4 separate regions of the Homo sapiens genome follow, and regions 1, 3 and 4 are each linked to region 2. Evidence: promoter capture Hi-C in 16 types of primary human blood cells and fetal thymus (Javierre and others, 2016). All regions are on one chromosome and are shown on one strand. The core of a region is centred on a gene start or on the middle of the fragment in contact, and the rest is flanking DNA. Distances in the headings are between cores, read along the strand shown.

The links. The method cuts DNA at HindIII sites, captures the fragments that hold promoters and counts their contacts. A CHiCAGO score of 5 or more calls a contact.
Region 1: a contact is called between a fragment that was not itself captured here and the fragment with the promoter of TMEM128 in region 2, in 4 of 17 cell types (naive CD8 T cells, total CD4 T cells, total CD8 T cells and 1 more). The highest score is 7.4, in naive CD8 T cells.
Region 3: a contact is called between a fragment that was not itself captured here and the fragment with the promoter of TMEM128 in region 2, in 2 of 17 cell types (total CD8 T cells and naive CD8 T cells). The highest score is 6.1, in total CD8 T cells.
Region 4: a contact is called between a fragment that was not itself captured here and the fragment with the promoter of TMEM128 in region 2, in 4 of 17 cell types (naive CD8 T cells, total CD8 T cells, naive CD4 T cells and 1 more). The highest score is 7.0, in naive CD8 T cells.

Annotation. Positions count from the first base shown.
Region 1 is chr4:4,461,126-4,464,210 of GRCh38, reverse strand. All of the region lies in intron 2 of STX18 (syntaxin 18), which reads left to right. Among named protein-coding and RNA genes, the nearest start is that of STX18-IT1, 19 kb to the left of the region's middle. The HindIII fragment of the contact is 943 bases long and covers 1,198-2,140 here.
Region 2 is chr4:4,246,807-4,249,861 of GRCh38, reverse strand. It overlaps TMEM128 (transmembrane protein 128), which reads left to right and starts at 1,639. Exons shown (of 5, transcript NM_001297551.2): 1 at 1,639-1,756. The coding sequence starts at 1,660. RefSeq lists enhancers at 1,259-1,368, 1,671-2,297. The HindIII fragment of the contact is 7,732 bases long and covers 1-3,055 here.
Region 3 is chr4:4,381,751-4,385,016 of GRCh38, reverse strand. LOC112268462 (a long non-coding RNA gene) reads right to left here. Exons shown (of 3, transcript XR_007058004.1): 3 at 408-495. Among named protein-coding and RNA genes, the nearest start is that of NSG1, 3.7 kb to the left of the region's middle. The HindIII fragment of the contact is 1,934 bases long and covers 670-2,603 here.
Region 4 is chr4:4,416,972-4,419,934 of GRCh38, reverse strand. It overlaps NSG1 (neuronal vesicle trafficking associated 1), which reads right to left. Exons shown (of 5, transcript NM_014392.5): 5 at 877-2,700. The coding sequence ends at 2,500. It overlaps STX18 (syntaxin 18), which reads left to right. Exons shown (of 11, transcript NM_016930.4): 11 at 1-967. Among named protein-coding and RNA genes, the nearest start is that of NSG1, 31 kb to the right of the region's middle. The HindIII fragment of the contact is 545 bases long and covers 1,037-1,581 here.

The DNA.
Region 1 (3,085 bases), core at 420-2,919, 210 kb before region 2:
GTAGGACTCATCTTCAAATGTATTATGTAAATTAATGAAAAAGTTGGATTTGACAGATAAGATAACATCATTAGGAGCATCTTTTTAGGATTTCATCTTTATAAAACGAGGGGTGGTTGCCTTTCAGAAGCATTCCTGTCACAAAGATAGAGAATATAAAATAAATCCTGCTTTTTTTTAACTTTGTCAATATATGCAAAAATGGAAATACTTCTTATAAATTCTCCAATAGAGAAAAATAATTATACCCTAGTTGAATTTTAAATAATCCTTGATGCTTTGTCTACTTGCACTTAACATCCATAGGCAATTTTATGCTTTTAAATGCACTTCATTTGCATTATTTTGGAATATACTAAAATAATTATTCCGATGCATAGTACCAAGAAAACCTTATTTTTAAGCTCTGAGTTAAAAATAGTTGGTTAACACTAGATCGCAGTGTCAATTTTATTTCTAAAGGTGTGTATGTGTATCAAATACTGATTTGATAGGCTGTAAAAAATGGAAGCTACAGTGATTTTGTAAAACTTTACAAAACTTGTATAAAGCTCTCAATTTGTAGCTTCTTTCTTTAGTATCTGACAAGTTAGGTTGACGAGGTGGTTGTAAATATCTTTCATACAAATCACTTATTAACTTCCCTTTTCCTTGAAAAGAAATCCAGCAAAGTAAATGCTTAGAGTGTTGGTTTGATTCACACCACTCCTTACGAACCATGTGAATCTGTGAAACTCAGTGTCTTCCTCTAATGCTACAGGTCAGCAAATAACAGCCACAGGCCAAATCTACATTTTAAATATACTTTTAAATGTAGTTACATATTTTAATGTTGGGGAAAAAGTAATAAGGATATTTTATCACATGTGAACATTATGTGAAATTCAAGTTTCAGTGCCCATAATAAAGTTTTATTGGCACACAGCCACGTTCATTTGTTTACATATTGTCTAGGGCTGTTTTTATGCTACAACAGCAGAGTTGAGTAGCTGTGATGGGCTACAAGGCCCACAAAGTCTAACATGTTTACTCTCTGGCCCTTTTCAGAAAAAATTTGCAAAGCCAACAGTGGGAGGGATACTCACTCAGGAAGCAGTTGAGAGGTTCAAAGCAGACAGTATGATTCAAATGCAATGTGAAAAGAACAACACAGTGGCATCCGGGTGTTCTTCTGCAACTTTGCAGTTGTTTTAAGCTTTCGATGTAATAGTGATGTTAAGGCAGTTATTATACTCAAACAGCAAAAGGAGGCTCCTGCACACTGTTTTTCAGTGTTCCCAGACTACTGCAGCATGGATTCTCATCTTAGTACAGTAAAGAAGGGCCTAAGCCTTCCCCTTTCCCAGCTACAAGGGCAGCAAATGCTAGGACTGAGGATTGGGTTCCCTAGGGGCCAGTGCCAGCTCTGCCACTTAAGGGCAGATAACTTCAGAAGATAGAACTGTTGTCCCCGAGGCATTCTTCATTTTGTTAGGTACATCGCCTCATTCTAGAAACTCAGTCTTTTTTTTTTTTTTAAGGTGGTTTTGCTATGTTGTCCAGGTTAGCTTCAAAATCCTGAGCTCAAGTGATCCTCCTGCCTCAGCCTCCTGAGTAGTTGGGACTATAGGCATATGACATGATACCCAGCTAGAAACTCAGTCTTTTATCTTTTACTCATTTTCCCGAGGCCAGTTGTTCATTGCCAACTCATGCACACTGAATTCTACTCCACCCCCTGTTTTGGTCCCTGTGAAAGAGCATGGGCTTTGGGGTCAGTCACACCTAAGTTCCAGTCCCAATCCTGCCATGTATTTATCATGTGAATGAATATAACTTGCCTTTGTGCTAGTTTTCTTTTTTATAAAATGTGGATGATGTTCTCGTGAGGATTAAATTAGGTGGGTATGAGAGTTCCTGACACATAGAAGTCTCCTGGTGAATGATAATTGAATTGGAACCCCATTTGACCTATGCTGCAGTTGCAGGGGGTTGGAGGGTGTTGGTTATTGAACAAGACAAAACCCACCTCTGTTTCCTGCCAGAGAGCTGGGAGGAGGGAGAAAGAAAGAAATGGAGGCAGGAGTCAGATCAACACAGTGGAGACCCACGTGTCATATCAGCTTTATCATTGGTAAAATCTAGGTCAGCAAACAAAGCTTTGGTTTGCAGGCGGGTGGCCTTGTTGATACTCTGCTCTTGAATTAGACACACTCAGGCATTAGTGCCACTGCGCAGCCGCAGCCCCTGGAGCACAGACAGCAGGGACAGGCCCCTTTGCAACATAGGAGAGAGAGGAACAGAGCGGAACCTCTGCTGTCTCTAAGTAGGTAAAAGAGAGGAGAGAAAGGTGTGGTGACTATATGCACACCCCATGCTTTCTGCGAGGGGGCCAGAGGGAGGAGGCTCTGGGAGGAGGCAAGGTGTCATTTGGGGAAGTTGGTTCCCACAGAAACATGAGGATTAGGGAATAAGCATTCCCCCCGGTAGCCCAGGTTCTGTCCAGGTGGAGAAAGACCACCCTTATTGTCTCTCATCAAGTTCTCCCTCCCAAAGGTGGTAGACTGCTTAAAGCCTTTCTTTTTTACTCTTCTGCCCTCCCAGTGCAATGTGCTAGCCTTGGCCTGCTCCTAGGAACATTTTATGTGGAGTATGATCATGGAATTGAAAGAATATGTGTAGAAATACTGCCTTCAGACCTATGAGGCTTTGTTAGTTTGACATAATTAGGAAGCTGTAATTTTTTCCAGAATGTAGAGCTCAGACTTTATTGACCCATTTAATTTTTTTTTAATAATGACATTTTACTAGAGCAGAACAGCATGTAACCTAGATAGCCTGTGGCTAGATCTCTGAATGATTTTAATTAAAAATAATGTCTCCACTTCTGGTAGATGGACTTTTTCCACAATATCCTGGCAACAAAACAATCTGGGAGAAAAAACTTCCTTGGTTTCTGTTGTTCTTACTAATAGAATAACCATACTGTCAATTTTCAATTTAGAAGGTTAATGTATATATATAATGTTTCCTAAAGGAACATTACCTTTTAATTAAATAATCAGTTTTATCAAATTAACCTTTAGACCTTTTCAATTTCACTGAG
Region 2 (3,055 bases), core at 390-2,889:
AGAAAGGCTGAAGAAATGATAAATCAGTAGGGATTTGGTATTTCTCTCTTTTTTTTAATTTTTTTTATTTTTATTTTTGAGAGGGAATCTCACTCTGTTGCCCAAGCTGGAGTGCAGTGGCAGGATCACTGCAGCCTCCTTCTCCCAGGTTCAAGTGATTGTCCTGCCTCAGCCTCCAGAGTAGCTGGGATTACAGGTGCCGGCCACCATTCCCGGCTAACTTTTGTATTTTTAGTAGAGACGGGGTTTCGCCATGTTGGCCAGGCTGGTCTCAAACGCCTGACCTTGTGATCCGCCCGCCTCGGCCTCGCAAAGTGTTGGGATTACAGGCGTGAGCCACCGCGCGCGGCTGGCACTCTTTTCTTGAGTATTTCTTATTACATTCCTTTTACAAACACCCCAACACATCGAAGATATTAAACAGTGCCTACTAATTCAAATTTTACTTCCTATGTAGCTGGCTCTCCACCCCTGTATTCAACTCACCTGAAACCACTCTCCCTGCTCTCCCACACTGCAGCAGAATAAACTGCCCTTTATATGTACAGTGTTTCTATTATGCCCCATGTACAGTGTTTTTATTATGGCACTGTATTGAAGCTGCTTCCTCTACTAGATTCTTCTGTCCTCACCATTTTATCACATGCAGCTGCTCAGAAAATGTTGGCTGCATTGATGAAATGCTTTCATACATTTACAAATAGAGTTTTCTTGTAATATACCTCTGTGGTTTTCTTTGGACAAGGAGCTCCTCACGTGCAAGGCCATGTCTTACTCATCTTTATCTCCACTGCTAGCATGGTGCCTAACAGCTCCTACCAAATAGTAGATGCTCAGTAAACGTTTGCGTGGCTAAGCCCACCATTTCTCAGCACATGACACGCTGGGAAACGGCTGGGAGAGTAATACGCGGGATTATTGACGAAGAAAAAGTTGTGAACTCGTAACACACAGTTTGTGGGCGTGAGCAGTGTGGAAAACCGCAGTTTGCTGGGAAAGCAATTTAGTTCCCTCGGTTCAGGCTGGGAGGATTTTTCACAAGTGGCGAGGAGGAGGCTCACATGAACCACATACAGGTACTTCTCACTGAAACGCACAACAAATCTAGAGCCAAGTGTAATAACGAAACGGGCCCCAAGAAGTTTATTTAATGCCCAGGGCCCCCAAGTGGTCACTGCCAGGCTCTAGCATCCTGTCCAGCAGGCCTTTCTCCTCCTTTCAAGTCTTGCTGGACGACTCCTGAAAAGCAAAAGTAGGAAAAAAACTGGGGGCTGAGAGTGGAAGGCTGGACAGAGGGTATGTCTCCTGCTCTGGCACCCGGAAGCCTGCGAGGGCTTCGGAAGCGCAGCGTCTCACGGTCGCGCATCCCGGCCCTGGACGCATCCAGCGGCAGCGGTAATCCTGGTCCTCCTGGGCTTCCGTAGGTCGGAATAAACTTGGGAACTCTTCCACCGGCAAAGCTCAGTGTTTTAAAATTCAAATCACACTTGCCGACATGAGAGCGGAACCTTTGAGGCCGACTCCACCCTAGCTGCTCGCTAACTAAACAGCGAAGAGAACACAGTCTCCAATCCAAACGCCAGGAGGTCCAGACCCGGAGCGGACGCCGGAAGCGCTGTGTCTGACGTCACTTCCGTCGCATTTCGGGGCGGTACCAAGATGGACTCCTCGCGGGCCCGGCAGCAGCTCCGGCGGCGATTCCTCCTCCTGCCGGACGCCGAGGCCCAGCTGGACCGCGAGGGTGACGCCGGGCCGGGTGAGGCGCGCACCAAGCCGCCCCGAGGTTCTCAGAGGCGAGGCGTCGGAAAACGGCCGGCCTCCGGCAGCCCTGGCCCAGTCTGGAAGGACTGAGTTTCGGCTTTGCAAGTCGAATATTTAATGTCAGGGAAGATCCTTAGAATCGCGGAGTGCTGTGCATCGTCATTTCAGCTGCGCTTCAGAATTCTCTGGAGAGCTGATTTGACACCTATTTGGAAATAGCGATTAAAATTAAAAATACCCACCAGTTTTAAGTCTTAAGGATTTACCAGAAACATGCGTGTACCGCAGTGTACAATGATGTGCGCAGTGTTTCACTTCAGGATTGCTTGTAATAGCGAATTACTGGAAATATCTGCCTTGCCCGTCAGCAGAAAGCTGTTTAAGTAAATTTGGGTATATGTATACCTGACACATCAGGTCGACTCGTATGTACCAATGGGGATGATTTTCAAAGGGAAGTGTGGAACACTATGGTATGCCGCCATTTGGGTACAAAACAGGTAACTTGTGATGTATGTTCACCTGTGAATGCATAGAATATGGAAGAATTCAGTAGAAATTGTAAGTGGTGGTTGCTTCTGGGGATTAGATCTGAGGTTAAGGATGGGAGACAGATACTTCATTTTGGATATTTTTTATCTCATATGTTTTAAAACCACGTCCATTTATTACCTTTTAAAATTAAAAACACGAATAACCTCATGCCCAGGCATGATGATGTATACATTTTGAGGATATCCCAGAATATTACGAACATGCTTCCCAGGGTTTCCGATGGTCATCTAAAGGCCCAAAACCTCAGATGTGGACCATTGATTCTCACGTGAACCTAGAGGGCATGTCAGAATCCCCGGAAAACTTAATAGAAATCATCCATCTGACCCAACCCCCATCCACCCATTCTTTCAGATTGCGTTCCAGACAGGAAAAATGTCTTGTCCATCACCTGTCTAGACAGTGCTGTGCTGGAACTAGAGCTCTGGTGTGCCGTTTCCACTTTTGAGCTGTGTTTAAAGTAACTAAAATATTTAGTTATAGGCTGGGCAGGGTAGCTCACGCCTGTAATCCCAGCACTTTGAGAGGCTGAGGCGGGCTGATCACGAGGTCAGGAGTTCGAGACCAACCTGGCCAAATAGAGCAGCCTGGCCAAGATGGTGAAACCCCGTCTCTACTAAAAATACAAAAATTAGCCCGGCGTGGTGGCAGGCGCCTGTAATCCCAGGTACTCGGGAGGCTGAGGCAGGAGAATTGCTTGAACCCGGGAGGCGGTGGTTGCAGTGAGCCGAGATCAAAC
Region 3 (3,266 bases), core at 387-2,886, 140 kb before region 2:
CACCCGCAGGGAGCTACGGACAAGGGCAAGTCTTTGCTGGGAGCAGTGGCCCTGTGGGAGAGTGGCCTCTGCCTCTTGCCAGGAGGGAGGACATCCAGAGACTGTGGGTAAAGACTGTGGATAAAGCTTCCTACAGGTGGGCCTGAGAGAGGTGCGTGCAGAGGGGAAGGCATTCCAGGTAGGAGAACAGAATGTGTTAAGACAGTATATGAGCTTCCTGCCACTGTTGGAACAAATTTGGCTTAAAACAATAGAAACATGTTCTCTCCTGGCTTTGGAGGCCAGAAGTCTAAAGTCTAGGTCCCAGCAGGGCCTCACTCCCTCTACAAGCCACAGAGAAGAACCTGTTCTTTCCCCCTCCAGCTTCCAGTGGCTCCAGACATTCTTTGACTGTGGCTGCATCACTCCAATCTCTGCCTTCATGTCACTCCAGTCATATTGCCTCCTCCTCTTCTCTGTGTCTCTTATAAGGACACTCATCATAGGATTTAGGGCCTGCTGGGATAATCCAGGATAAGGTCTCCCTCTCAAAATCCTTAACTTAATCCTATCTTTGCCATATAAGATAATGTTCACTCTTTTACTATGTAAGGTAAATCAGGTTCCCGGGGTTAGCATGTGGACATATCTTTTAAGGGTCGCCATTCAGCTCACTACAGGCATTAAGCTTGCAAGGGTGTGGTGATTTGGAGAACCCAAGTCATTCACAGAGGGTGGCAGAAATTAGGTTGAAGAAGCCACAGCCACCAAAATGGGGATGGCTGAGGCTGCAATGGTGGTTGCAGGTCAAACAGATGTCAGGTATTTTCACAACATACAAAAAGGGAAAATCAATGGGATGCGATCTCCCCCTGGACCAGTTTCATCCCAGCACCAACAATTTAAAATCCAAGTGCCACAGAAGATTGTTGACACATACTCAGTTTTTCTAAATGACTCTTTTTTTTTTTTTTTTTTTGGGACGGAGTCTTGCTCCGTCGCCAGGCTGGAGTGCAGTGCCGTGATCTCAGCTTACTGCAACCTCCGCCTCCCTGGTGCAAGTGATTCTCCTGCCTCAGCTTCCTGAGTAGCTGGGATTACAGGCACGTGCCACCACTCCCAGCTAATTTTTGTATTTTTAGTAGAGACGGAGTTTCACCATATTGGTAAGGATGGTCCTGATCTCCTGACCTCGTGATCCACCTGCTTCAGCCTCCCAAAGTGTTGGAATTACAGGAGTGAGCCACTGCACCTGGCCCTAAATGACTCTTTTAGGAATACTTCCAGGGTTGCTGATCTCAGGCACAGACCCATCACTGCCTGTACGATTGTAACTCCTACCCTGCTCCCTCTCCTCAGGGCAGCCAGGCGCTGCTCTCTAATGACCCTGGTACTTCCAGGTCCAAGCGTTTTAGCAACTTCCCTTGTCCCACTGGTTGAAGTCCAGACTGTCACAGCAAGAGACAATGTGACACAGTGGCTAAGCCGTGGCCCGATTTTGAATCCTGTCCCTCTCTTCCTAGCAGTGTGACTTCAGGCAAGCTGCTTAACCTTTCTATGCTTCAGTTTCCCCATCTATAAATGGAGATAATGAAACCTCCATCAGAGCAGTGTTGTGAGAATCAAATGAGCTATTCTTATTTTTTTAAGTGCCTGTTTTAGGTATTACTATTGCTTTGACCTCTAATTCTGTACTCCTGTGGTCTCTATTCTTAGCAGCCGGTGCTGGAGCCAGGGCGAGGTGATAGACACTTTTCCTGGTTATGTGACAAGTGTTCAGAGTGACTAAGGTGACTCTTCCCCTAGAGGCCTCATGAGCCTCTTTGCAGGTCACAGAAGTCAAATGATGAGTCCCCGGCCACAGGCTTCCCTGCAGAGCTGGGATGGGTTGCAGGATCTAGTCAGGCCTCCCACAGCCAGCCAGATCTCCAGGATGGATGAGGTCCTGCTGGGAGGGTGGCCACCCAGTGCTGTCAGCCTATGGAGGTTCAGTGGCAGGTGATCAGCAGAGGTTCTGCTCTGTTTTTCTGCAGCCTGGCCACGTCGATCCAGCGATGCTTCATCCAAATGTCTTGTTTTTAGATTGAGATGTAATTCACATGCCACAGATATCACCAGTTTAAAGTATACGCTTAACTGGTTTTAGTATATTTACAAGGTTGTACAATCATCACCACTAATTTCAGAACATTTTCATCACCCCGTAAAGAAACCTGCATCCCACAACAGTCACTCCCTGCACACATCCTCATCTCTGATGGTTTTAAGTTTCTTGGGTCCACTTCTCAATCCACGGGACCAGCCGGCACGCTGGGACCAGCCGGCACACTGGGATCAGCCGGCACACTGACACAGAATCGGGAGAGACATTAGGCTCTGGATCTTTCTGCAAATGGGACAATCCATTTGCAATGTGAAGAATCAGCCCACCTGGGTGAAGTCATCCCTGTTTCTCCTTAAACCCTGTCCTGTAGCCAAATTCTCCATTCCCCCAAGTGCCTGCCTCCAGGCCTTTGCAAATGCTGCTTCTCTTGCCTAGATTGCCTTCCCCACTCCTCATCGATTTTGCAAACTGCTCCTCATCCTCCAAAGCCCAGATCCAATGTTGCCTCCTCTTTGAAGCTTGGCCTTTCTTTATGCTCCTCTATCCCGGAGTCTGGGTATTTACATTTCTATATAGATCATGAGCAAATCAGGCAGAACCACTTAATCTTTCATTTCCATATCCCCCCTGTCTAGAGCATGGCCTGGTAATCAGGAAATGTTTGCTTAATTGAATAGGCATCCACTTAGCTTACATTCACAGTAAAGTAAGACATGAACATCAGAGGTGTAAATTCGAATTCAAGTGCATAGTAAGAAAGTCAGGTCAGGCCTGGTGGCTCATCCCTTTAATCACAGCACTTTGGGAGGCTGAAGTGGAAAGAACCCTTGAGCCCAGGAGTCTGAGAACCACCTGGACAACAAAGTGGACCCCCATAAAAAAAAAAAAAAAAGAAAAAGAAAGAAAGGAAGGAAGGGAGGGAGGGAGGGAAGAGAGAATTAGCCAGGTGTGGTAGCACAAACCTGTGACCCCAGCTACTCAGGAGGCTGAGGTGGGAGGATCGCTTGAGCCCAGGAGTTTAAGGCTGCAGTGAGCTGTGATTGCACCCTGCTCTCCAGCCTCAGCAACAGAACAAGAACAAAAAAAAAAAAAAAAAAGAAAGAAAGAAAAGAAAATTCATGGTCTAATTAAAACCGAAGGCAGGTTTGCCCATGACATCGTTGTGATGCTCTCTTCTTAGAGT
Region 4 (2,963 bases), core at 60-2,559, 170 kb before region 2:
ATCACAGTGCCATTTGAAGGGAAAGGAGTTCAGACAGACAGACGTATTCCCCAAAAAGGGATACCCCAGGCCGATGGTGTTCAGCCATTTAGCAGCTGAAAAAGGAAACAGTGCACACCAATGGGAGGCAGCCTGCGTAGCCCTCATCAGGCAAGACAGACTGAATGCAGGAGTGGGTGATTAGCTGCTCCTTGAACTTGAGGCTGCCTTGGCAGCAGGGGCACAGCAGGCCTCAAGAGCCCCTAATTGTCTCAGGGTTCAAAGGAAGACACTGACCTTTCCCATCCCGGTAGCTTCAGGGAAGATCATAGTTAATAACGTCTCTCAACAAATGATTACTTCTTTGTTTCCTTGTGGCTTCTTGTCTGTCTGAGTCAACGAATACACAGACTTACTGGATTATAGAAGAGAAAATTCACATCTGCCTTGTTAATCTAATAAATATAATTACAGCCCCTTAATGTGTTGTCAATGAGTCTAAGTTGACAAATTCAGTGGCAGCCCAGCCACCTCCTATCAATCAATCAGGGAAGAAATGCAGGGGAGACTGGGGCCCTCAGTGAGGGGCTGCCTGGCATTACTCCTCCAAAGACTGCTGCCCCCAGAACAGGCAGGGGGTGTGGGAGGGCCAGTTTCCCGCCACTGGGTCCAAGGAGCCTTTGTTCAAAGGAAGAAGTGGGCCACGGAAGAACGGGCCTGCTTCTCTCGTGCCTGTGCTTCTGACCTCCAGGAACTGTAAACAGGAACACCTATGTGTAACTGAAGGCATGAGACATCTGTACAGGAAGCATCCCAGCGCCCACATGGGCATGAGACAGTCTGCACTGCGCCTGGTGAAATGCGTGTGTGTACAGACAGTCCACTGGGCAGCACAGGTATCCTCATGTTCTTTATTTGCACAGAGTGAAATGTCAGAAGTTACATGTAAATGAATTCACAGTCAATAAAGTCCACGTCTACCTGGAAATACAGGCTCGGCCTCTGCACTGTGCGCACACGGGCTTCACTTGTGTCTATTCAGATGCGCAGGGAAGCTTTGGCACTGATTTATTGCTCTTGAGTCATTTTCCACAGCTTAACACCACCCTTCTCAGCACACGCCTCTGATGCACACCGCTGCGCCAAGGTCACGGTCTGTGTCTCCAGACACCCTTGATGAGAAAATACATTTTCTGTCTTAGAAGCACATTTCAGGAAACAAGAGTGGCGCTGACCACGGTCACCATGCCTGTTCACAACACATCTCACACTATTTGTCGTTTATTTCTGATCTAAAAAACTGAAACTTTTGACACGTACACCAGAAACAACACATTCAATAACATAGAAGAAATGTCTGCGAATGTCTTTTCTATTTGTTTTACACACTTAGTTCATCTAACTGGCAGTTTTGTAAACATAAACTTTAATATCAAGATTCAAACTGGAACAATTTTCTTACAAAGATTGTGAGTTGAAATTTGTCATTTTGTTTGCACGGTGCCACACCAGTCCCCCACCCCCACCCCACAGCCTTTCCTGCCTGTTTCCCACATCAAGGGATATCAGTTTCATAGAATAAAAATTAAAGTAGCTCAAGCTTACCAGAAATTACATTTCCACTTTTCCCACCCAGCTCATTTCTTTAAAAACTAATGGGGCTATTGGTGCAAATTTATTCATAATAGAAGTGAACCAGAGGGCCAGTGGGGGCTCTTTCCTATCAGCACATCACAGAGCAGACAGACTACCTGCAGGGAGAGTTCTGCACCTCACGGGCCCAGGGCCGTCTCTTCCCAGCCCTCTCCCTCACATGCTCTGCCAGTCTACACACACTGGAGCAAACCCCAGCTGTCTCCACCCAGATGGGTGGTGCCCCTCCCTCCTTACCAAGATGCCAGAGTCAGAGGGGAGGGAGTAGTCAATCCACACCGAGCCTGCCACATTGCAGGGCCGTCCCACCCCGACTCAGGAGTCAGCACAGGGAGGGGTGGGGGGGTCTTTTTCCTCGTTCTCTATGCCACTTACTTACTACAGTGCACCTTGGCAGCAGTCAGCACTGTTACCCGCTGATGGCCGAGGAAGAAATGCGAAGTAGGCTTGCTCTTAGCACAGCGAGAGATCACTCTAGATATGGCTATGGAGGAAGGTTTGCAGACAGCAGGGTCGGTTCAGAAAATCAATTCCACAAAATGCATTTATCTGAGATCCAAACCCTTCGCATATCCAGTGTAAATTTATTTTTTTACAGCATCCAATAAATCCCAGTAAAGGAGCTAAATGAAGATCTTAACATGAAAAGTGGTGTCAGAGCTCTTTAGGCAATGCTGAAATGCACTTGATTTTATGCCCGTGGGTGGTCGGCAGCAAGTTTTATTTGCAAAGCAGCATTAGCAAACAGAAGCAATTGCACCGTAAATGAGTAACCTCTAAAGTATCAGTAATTATATTTAATGAAATGTCCCTCAAAGTCCCTTTGTTATTTGCAAGTGACACATTGTAAGGAACTTGCCCATCCCGCTAAGCTGACTTCTCAGCCGCTTCAGTCTCCTGCTCGGACAGCTTCTCTTCTGACAGAACTGACATCCAGGGCGATACGGAGCGCGTGATGCTCTGCTTGGCCAGGTTGTAGTGGTTTATGACTGTGTAAAATTTCTCCCGGGCACTGGAGTCTTGCTCCGCGTAGTAGCTCTCCAAGCCTTCTGGGATGCACTGGGTGTTCTGAAAGACAAGAGGCCACTGAGAGCACGCGTCGGTGCAAGAGGGGGTGCCAGTGTGTCTCCAGTTGGCAGCCAACAGTTACTGAGCACCTTCCCTGAGCTTGGAGGAATAGATACAGTGATGAGCAAAAACGGGCATGGATCTTGCCCTGAGAGAGCACAGCACAGGGGAAGCCTGGCCTTGATTATTCTTAATAGACTGGCTGGTGAGTGCCATGGCAGATGGGCACTTGGGCTCCAAGGGTGCCAGTGTAATGGGACAGC